Linked DNA regions of Homo sapiens: region 1 is linked to region 2. The links are contacts of gene promoters, found by promoter capture Hi-C in human tissues and cell types (Jung and others, 2019). All regions are on one chromosome and are shown on one strand. The core of a region is centred on a gene start or on the middle of the fragment in contact, and the rest is flanking DNA. Distances in the headings are between cores, read along the strand shown.

Region 1 (3,751 bases), core at 215-2,714, 46 kb before region 2:
AGACAGAACTATCAGAAAGATAATTTAAAACAACTATAACTAATATGTTGATGTTTCTAAAGAAAAAACTGACAACATACAAAAAACAGACAGCTAAGGCAATTTCAGCAGAGAGAGGAACGCTATAACATGGAATAGCATGAAAATGTTAGAAATAAAAAGCACAGTAACAGAGATGAAGAAGAACATTCAAAGGCTCATTAGAAGACTTCACAAACTGAAGAAAGGGTTAGTCAACTTGAACATAGGTCAATAGACATTACCCCAACTGCAGCACAAAGATATCCGAACTATGTGTCTTATTTATTGTTAATGAGAAGGCAAAATGCTACAATCATTTTGGGAAACAGTTTGGTTCTTTTTTATAGGATTAAGTATATACTTACTATATGATCCAGATGCCACTCTGAGTAATTACTCAAGAGAAATAAAAATGTATGCTCACAAAAAAACCTGTAGGTAAATATCTCTAACAGCTTTGTGCATAATTGTTAAAAACTGGAAAAAAAAACTTGAATAGTAAATAAATAAACTATGGTACATCTAGACAATGAAATACTATTCAGCCATAAAAAGGAACAGACTTGATATGTATAAGCGACATTGTTAAATCTCAAAAGGATTTGCTAAGTGAAAGAAGCTAAATCCCCAAATTACATATTATAGAATTTCATTTATATGACATTCTAAAAAAGCAAAACTATAGAGCTGTAGAACTCATGGGTGGGTGACAGGGGTTAGGAATGGAAGGAGAAGATTACTAGAAAGGAGGAGCATAAGCAAATTTTGAGGGATGATGGAACTGTTCTCAATGACAATTTTGATGATGGATATATGACTTGATGTGTTTGTCACAATGCTTAGAACTCAACACCACAAAAAGTAAATTTTACCGTGCATATGTTTAAAAATACATTTAAGTAAAGATGTGTTGTTGTACACAGAGTTTGGAAATGGAGAGTTTTTAGAGCTGGGCACATTTAGCAAACCTATTTTAAATTCAATTCAGTTCAAATTTGTTTTTACTCCTTCAAATGTCTGAATGATTCCAGGGTGAAATCGCACACTGTACTTTCTCAGATGGTCCTCTCTTACAGAGAACACTAAATTAGAACTTGAATGAGCTCCTCTGCTGTTCTGTGTCCCAGCCTGATTCAAAATAACATGCACTATAATATTTACTAATTGAAGAGTTAATTGTTTGTTTCTTAACTACTTAACATTTTGGTTAACTTAATCCTTTTCTTCTTCCTCCCAAATACCCTTTGTCACTCTCTCCCCATGATCTTATCAGGCATCAGATTGTTCATCCACTAAAGAATGCTGGTGAGTGTGCTAAAGAACGGCGAGGTGTGCTGGAGGCATGCGGTCCTTACCTAAGTAGATTCGAAGTGACTACCCCCTTCCACTAAATAATTTCATAATTACATGCCTTAGCTATTCAATTTACATTGCTGTGGTATCCAAAAGAATAATGATGGCAATTTACAATTACAATCAGCTTTATTTGCATTTCTAAAGCTTTGATATACTTCCTCAATTATTTAAATAATGTACATACACAAAAAGAATGAATAAACTATGGGAATTGTAAGCACTGTTGAAGCTACTTTTTTTTTTTTAACAAGTATTCATTTTAGGATTCATTACTTATAAATAGAATTACCCTGCTGTCATTGATTAATAACCTTAAAATACTCTTAGTCACTAACTTAAGTTCACCAATGTAGAGATATTAACGTATAATTTCAATTTAAGGTGTGTAGAAGGTAAACAGCAAGAACTGGAGGTGAGGTCATCCCTTTTATTCCCCCAATGTATAATATATTAATATTAACAGTAAACTTGAGAGGGTCTCTCTAGCTACTATTTAAAGTCAAAGGAAATCATAGAAGTAAACTACAAAAAGGGATTCTAAATATACCAATGAATTTCTTACTGTTTGAAGCATAATACAGTTTTCTTTTTAATACAGAATCTGGGATTTAATCTTTAGAATCAACATGCATTTTTAAAAAATGAGACAATTTTTAGATGATTAAGGTAAAATTTATATTTGCTAAATTCGTCTTCATAGTGTATCAGGTCATCTCAGCACCAAAGCTTGTATTCTCAAGACTAAGGACTCACTCTTTGTATGAAGCCCCACCTTAGTTTCCTGCCCAGTGTCTCCTCTTCTGATGTCAGAGTTCTTCTAAATCTTTTAGGCCTGAGCCTAAATCTGTTTCTGTGACTGATCTCTGTTTCCCAGTCTCTCCTGCAATATTCTATGGCCATTAAAAGTAAAGTAAATATGGCAACAGAAAAACTGATCTCATTTTACAAAGAATTTTTTAAAAAATTTTAATGCTAGAATGAGAAGTTTCCCTGAGTTAATTGGCAGTGGAAACGTATTACTTTTTTTTTTTTTAAGTAGGAGAAAATATGAAGCCCTGTGAAGACTGGATTTAGAGGGAGAAACAAGACAGTATGACTGGTCAGATGGTTGCTGGATGGTTTAGGAGGAAGGTAATGAAGACCTTAACCAGGGTGGTTGCAGTGGGAAGGGAAGAAAATAGACAGAAAAAGTGTTATATAAACAGAATCTATAGAATTCTAGCAAAGAATTCTTTAAGGAGAGTGATGAATAAGGAGAAACCATGAATGGAAGTGTCAGTAACAATGGAGGGAAGAGTGGATGTGGTTGGAGCTGTCAGGAAGCATGGACAGGCTTTGTGTTTAGAGAGACTGAGTTTGAAATCTGTCTCTGGTACTTAATTCCATGTAACAAAAAAGCGTCTGAATTTCTTTTTGCCTTAATCTGTACATCTGTTTACTCTAAAAATGCCTACCTTCAAAGGGTTCTTATGGGATTGAGTAAGCTACTGCATGAAAAGCACCTGCCACACAGTGATTTCTAGACCAATAAATGGAAGTTATTATTATTATTGCGATTATTATGACTACCATAAAGAAATGAGTGCCATGCTAATTATTAACCAGTAATTGGCAATTGTCTGCACTCGAATGGATATCGTGCAGCATTTACATGAGGCATTGCCGCAAGACCTAAGGAGCTGACCTAACCGAGTGTCTAGCTGTCCCTTCGAGGAAGATTGTCATCAGAGTGCTCTGTCTATGAGGACAGACTTTCAAGAGGTTTACTCAATTAATCTGACATGCTTGTGATTTGAGGTAATTAGGAAAGAATTTATAAAATGAAAAAGGAGATGAAAGAAGACAGGCTGAGGAATCTAAGTGGGAGGTGTCTGTAGAGGAGTCAAGGAAGGCACGTTAATGAGAGGCTTCATGCAGGTAGAAGGAGGGGATTGAGGGTTGGGCAGAGAGATCCCAGGGAGCCTGAGCCAGTGCAGGAGTCAGGGTGTGGTGTGTGAGCTGTTAGCTGCAGAGTTGCAGTCACCATAAAAAGAGGGAGGTGCCTGGGAAGGGCCCGCAGCAGGAGGGTGGAGATGTGGGAGGGGCAGGATTGGGACGCAACAAATGGGAAATTGCTGGGCCTAGTCGGGCAGGGCTCACCCAATAAATCATTCACAGTAGCTGGAACTGGCTTGAGTGTTTTCTTTATATTGTGGCTCTATTAAAAGGGCACTGCTTCCTTTTTGTGTGGGCTTTAGTCACTGCATTACTCACCGAGACCGCTGGACGGCTTCAGGCCACTTGAGGAGCGAGTGACACCGGAGCAGTTGACTGTGTTTCGCTTGAGCAAGCACAAGCAAGGTTGCTCATCTCTGGAACACAGAAGATGGTATCG
Region 2 (3,610 bases), core at 362-2,861:
CAGAAAGTAGGCCAAAAGAAGTAGGATCAGAACATCAACTTCCCAGAACTGTGGAGAGTATTCTGGATTCATTTGAATTGAGCAGTGCCTGGAATCTCTTCATCCAACCAATATATGCCATTTTTTCAGTAACACCAATTTAATTTTGCTCTTCTATATCTTCCTAGTTCAGTGGAGAATATCATGTTATAGAAAAAGGTAATGATAACTTCATTAGCTGAAAAAAATGTGTTTCTATTTTCTAGGGTTGGAGAATTTGTCTTTGAATTATTTAAGCTGTATGACTATCTATTTATCTGTCTATCTATCTATCTAAATATATACTTAGATGATGCTTAAACATGCACAGAATTACACTTGGCTGTACACATATACATCTAAGTAATTTTTCTATTTCTATATTCCCATTCTTTTCTCCCAAAACGCCAGATATAAAAATATTCCATTAAAATGACTGTATTTTCTGATTGAGAAATCAAATTCCAATGCAGTCACAAAATATGTTTATTAGTGGGTATACCACTAGCAATAAAATACTACAAGATATCTTTTAGTTTTTTTTCTCCTGGGTCATTCATTTTCCAAATCTTCCTAGCTTCTAATTCTAATGAAGCAGTTACATTTATTTCTGTCTCTACATACAAGGAGAAATTGTTCCCATTGTCAAATAAGCTGAAGAAAACCTTTCTTTCCTCCCTTCTCAGCAGCATGGGTGTTGGGCTCTACCTTAACATTTGAAAATATTTATCCTTCTGTCCTAACTTCCATCACTGCCATTGAGTGCAATTGGTATCACTGAGCTCACTAATTTGGGACAGGAATAATGATGCTAAAGCTCTTGTTAGAGGAATCATTAGGGTTTAAAAAAATCTACACTTGATGGCCTGATTGTACTATTAAGCTAGGATATCCTATGTGTAATGTACAAGTAATTAGGGTGAATAGAGTGATTTTAGAGAGACTTGCTCTCAAAGATTGTAGTTGTCCTTGAAAAAATATAAAGGTAAAAAGCAGTGGCATCTTGTACAACAAAAGGAAAGCCACAAGAAAGATTATATGCTAGCTATTTCTTTATTCTCTTTCTTTTATGAAGTCTTTACATTCTGATAAGTTTCCTGTGACATCTAGAGAACCAACCACAGTGAATAGTCAATAACAGGAAGTAGATACCATGCCTTTATGAAGTTGCTGCTTTAAACTGGAATGCCAGTTCTCTAGCAGAACTACAGTGTTCTACAGGACCGATGACACTTAAATGCTTAGATGGGAGATAACTTCTGATGAGTGTGATTACACACGCTTAGGTCCTCTGATTTGCCAATGGCAGTTGAGGAGGCATCACTTCCTTGCATGGCGTTTGTGCACAATTTATGTTTGTACCCGAGGGCAAGACAGGTTAATAAGGCCAAGAAGGAGGGGAGGCTGTGGGAGTGGGTAATAACTGGGGAGGACTTCACAGCATCAACCTGGGGGAAAGGGAGGAGGGCTGAGGATGAAGGGTGTTCCCTCCTCCTTCTGCCTATGTGTTAAGTGGCAAGAGAAATTTTGAAAGCTGCTGTGAGGAGGAGCTACTGACTGGGTTTTGGGGTGTTTTGTACCCCACCCTCCTCACTTGTAGGAAAGCCTCTTTGCATTTAGACGTAATTGAACTGGAAGGAAGGAGACTGGCCAGGGAATAGGGGGAAAGAAATTCTCCCGTTGCTCCTCCTACTGTTTATCACTTGCCTCCGGACTGTCTTCCAAACCAAGCTCAGCTGCATCAAGGTGGCAGCAGAATACCCTGTGCAAGTGCCAGCGTCTTCTTAGCCGCTCTGTGCATCCCAGGCTGCCCTGTTATCTGGCCACCGTCCCTGGCCATTGGGACTGCTTCTGATGGCTCTGGCCTCTGCTGCCCCAGGGAGCATCTTCTGTAAGCAGCTCCTTTTCTCTCTCCTGGTGAGTAACAACCAAAGGATTAGGGAATTCAAGCATGTTACTACCTGCTTCCTCTCTGCAGTTTGGGCTTGAAAGAGACTAGGAGTGAGGATGGGAGGCAGAGAAGAGAGATTGGGGAAAACAAAAGCAGATCTGAGGAAGATTCAGGGAAGAGTTGAGAGGCTTGGGATTCAGGATGGAAAGTGTTCAGCTTACTTCTCAAGCACCCACTGCCAGAGTGTTAAAAGTTTTCAAGGGAATCCCTCTTCCATCCTGCTGTGGTGATTTTCTAAGAGTAGAGAAGTGAATTCATTCTTTAGGCATTTGGCCCAGAAGTTTCTGAGGTTTACTTCTGCTACCAGTGATTACATAAACTCATGTTATTTAACATGCTGAGTTCTACTAAGCTGCAAAAAAAGAGAAAGGATTCTGGGTGAACATGCAAATTATCCAGGACTTTTTGAATTTTACCCACGAAGCAGTTTAAGCAAAGAATAGTTTAAGAAAAATAACAAAAATGTGACTGTCATTGAAAATATCCTCAACTTGGCTTCCACTTGGGTTTTTAATAGCTTTGTAACTGTGTAAGGTGCTATTTTTTCTTTGGAGGTGAGGGAAGAGAGGGGGGTTATTTCACACATCCGTCCATCATTTCTGAGGTGTGAGTTTCCTATTTTTTCATTTTAGCAAAATACTTGAGTTTCAAAATATATTTTTAGAAATGGCAGGTATGAGGACAAACATTTTCTCCATGTAAATAATATACAATGCAGGGTTGATGGTCACCTTCTCATCCTGTAACTGCTTAGGGAGACGATAACTCAGATACCATCTTAAGTTAGTACAAGTTTGGTAAAATGTGGTAAAAATGTTTCAAAGGATTCTACCCACATTTCTTTTGCTTCTGATCCCTGTACTGTCTAATATCTCTTGGACAATTCATCTCCTGTTTATTTATTTCTGACTCTGAAACTGACTAAAAGGGTGTCACTAAGCCACTTAGTCAGTGATTTAACCTGAAGACGGGAATAGTATTTAATGAATGGAAACCTTCAGTGGCTCTGCCTGCAGAGGGAGGACCATCAACATGGAATCCTAGGACAAGAAGGAAAGAAGATGGGGGTGGGAGTGGAAGTGTGGATATAACTATAAGAATGTCTCATATATTTATATATATATATGTACATTTATATATATATACACACACGCACATATACAGTCATGCTCTGCAAAACAATGCCTCAGTCAATGATGGACTACATATATGAGTGGTCCCATAGATTATAATGGAGCTCGTCTGTATAGGTGAACCATTTTTTATCTTTTATATTGTATTTTAATGTACTTTTTCTATATCTAAAAATGTTTAGTTACACAAATACTTACAATTGCCTACAGTATTCAGTAGAGGAACATGCTGTACAGGTTTGTAGCTTACAATAAGCTATACTATATACTATACACCTAGGCTGTACCATGGTGCATACCATGGGGCATACATATATAAATCATGGTGTATACCATGTAGGTATAACCCAGGTGTGTAGTAGACTATATCCTCTAAGTGTATGTAAGTATACTCTATGATGTCTGCACAAGGATGAAATCACCTAACGTTGCATTTCTTAGAATGTAAGCAATATATGACTGTGTGTATATATATACACACATACACATACATATATAGGTATAGGTA

The links. The method cuts DNA at HindIII sites, captures the fragments that hold promoters and counts their contacts. A contact is called where the count stands out against the background at its distance.
Region 1: a fragment that was not itself captured here is called in contact with the fragment with the promoter of DSC1 in region 2 in 1 of the 25 tissues and cell types used here (neural progenitor cells).

Annotation. Positions count from the first base shown.
Region 1 is chr18:31,206,822-31,210,572 of GRCh38, reverse strand. No RefSeq gene overlaps it. Among named protein-coding and RNA genes, the nearest start is that of DSC1, 46 kb to the right of the region's middle. RefSeq lists a silencer at 3,724-3,751 and an enhancer at 3,247-3,751. The HindIII fragment of the contact is 3,155 bases long and covers 1-3,041 here.
Region 2 is chr18:31,160,857-31,164,466 of GRCh38, reverse strand. It overlaps DSC1 (desmocollin 1), which reads left to right and starts at 1,611. Exons shown (of 16, transcript NM_024421.2): 1 at 1,611-1,935. The coding sequence starts at 1,873. It overlaps DSCAS (DSC1/DSC2 antisense RNA), which reads right to left. Exons shown (of 4, transcript NR_110785.1): 4 at 1,678-1,932. The HindIII fragment of the contact is 13,832 bases long and covers 1-3,610 here.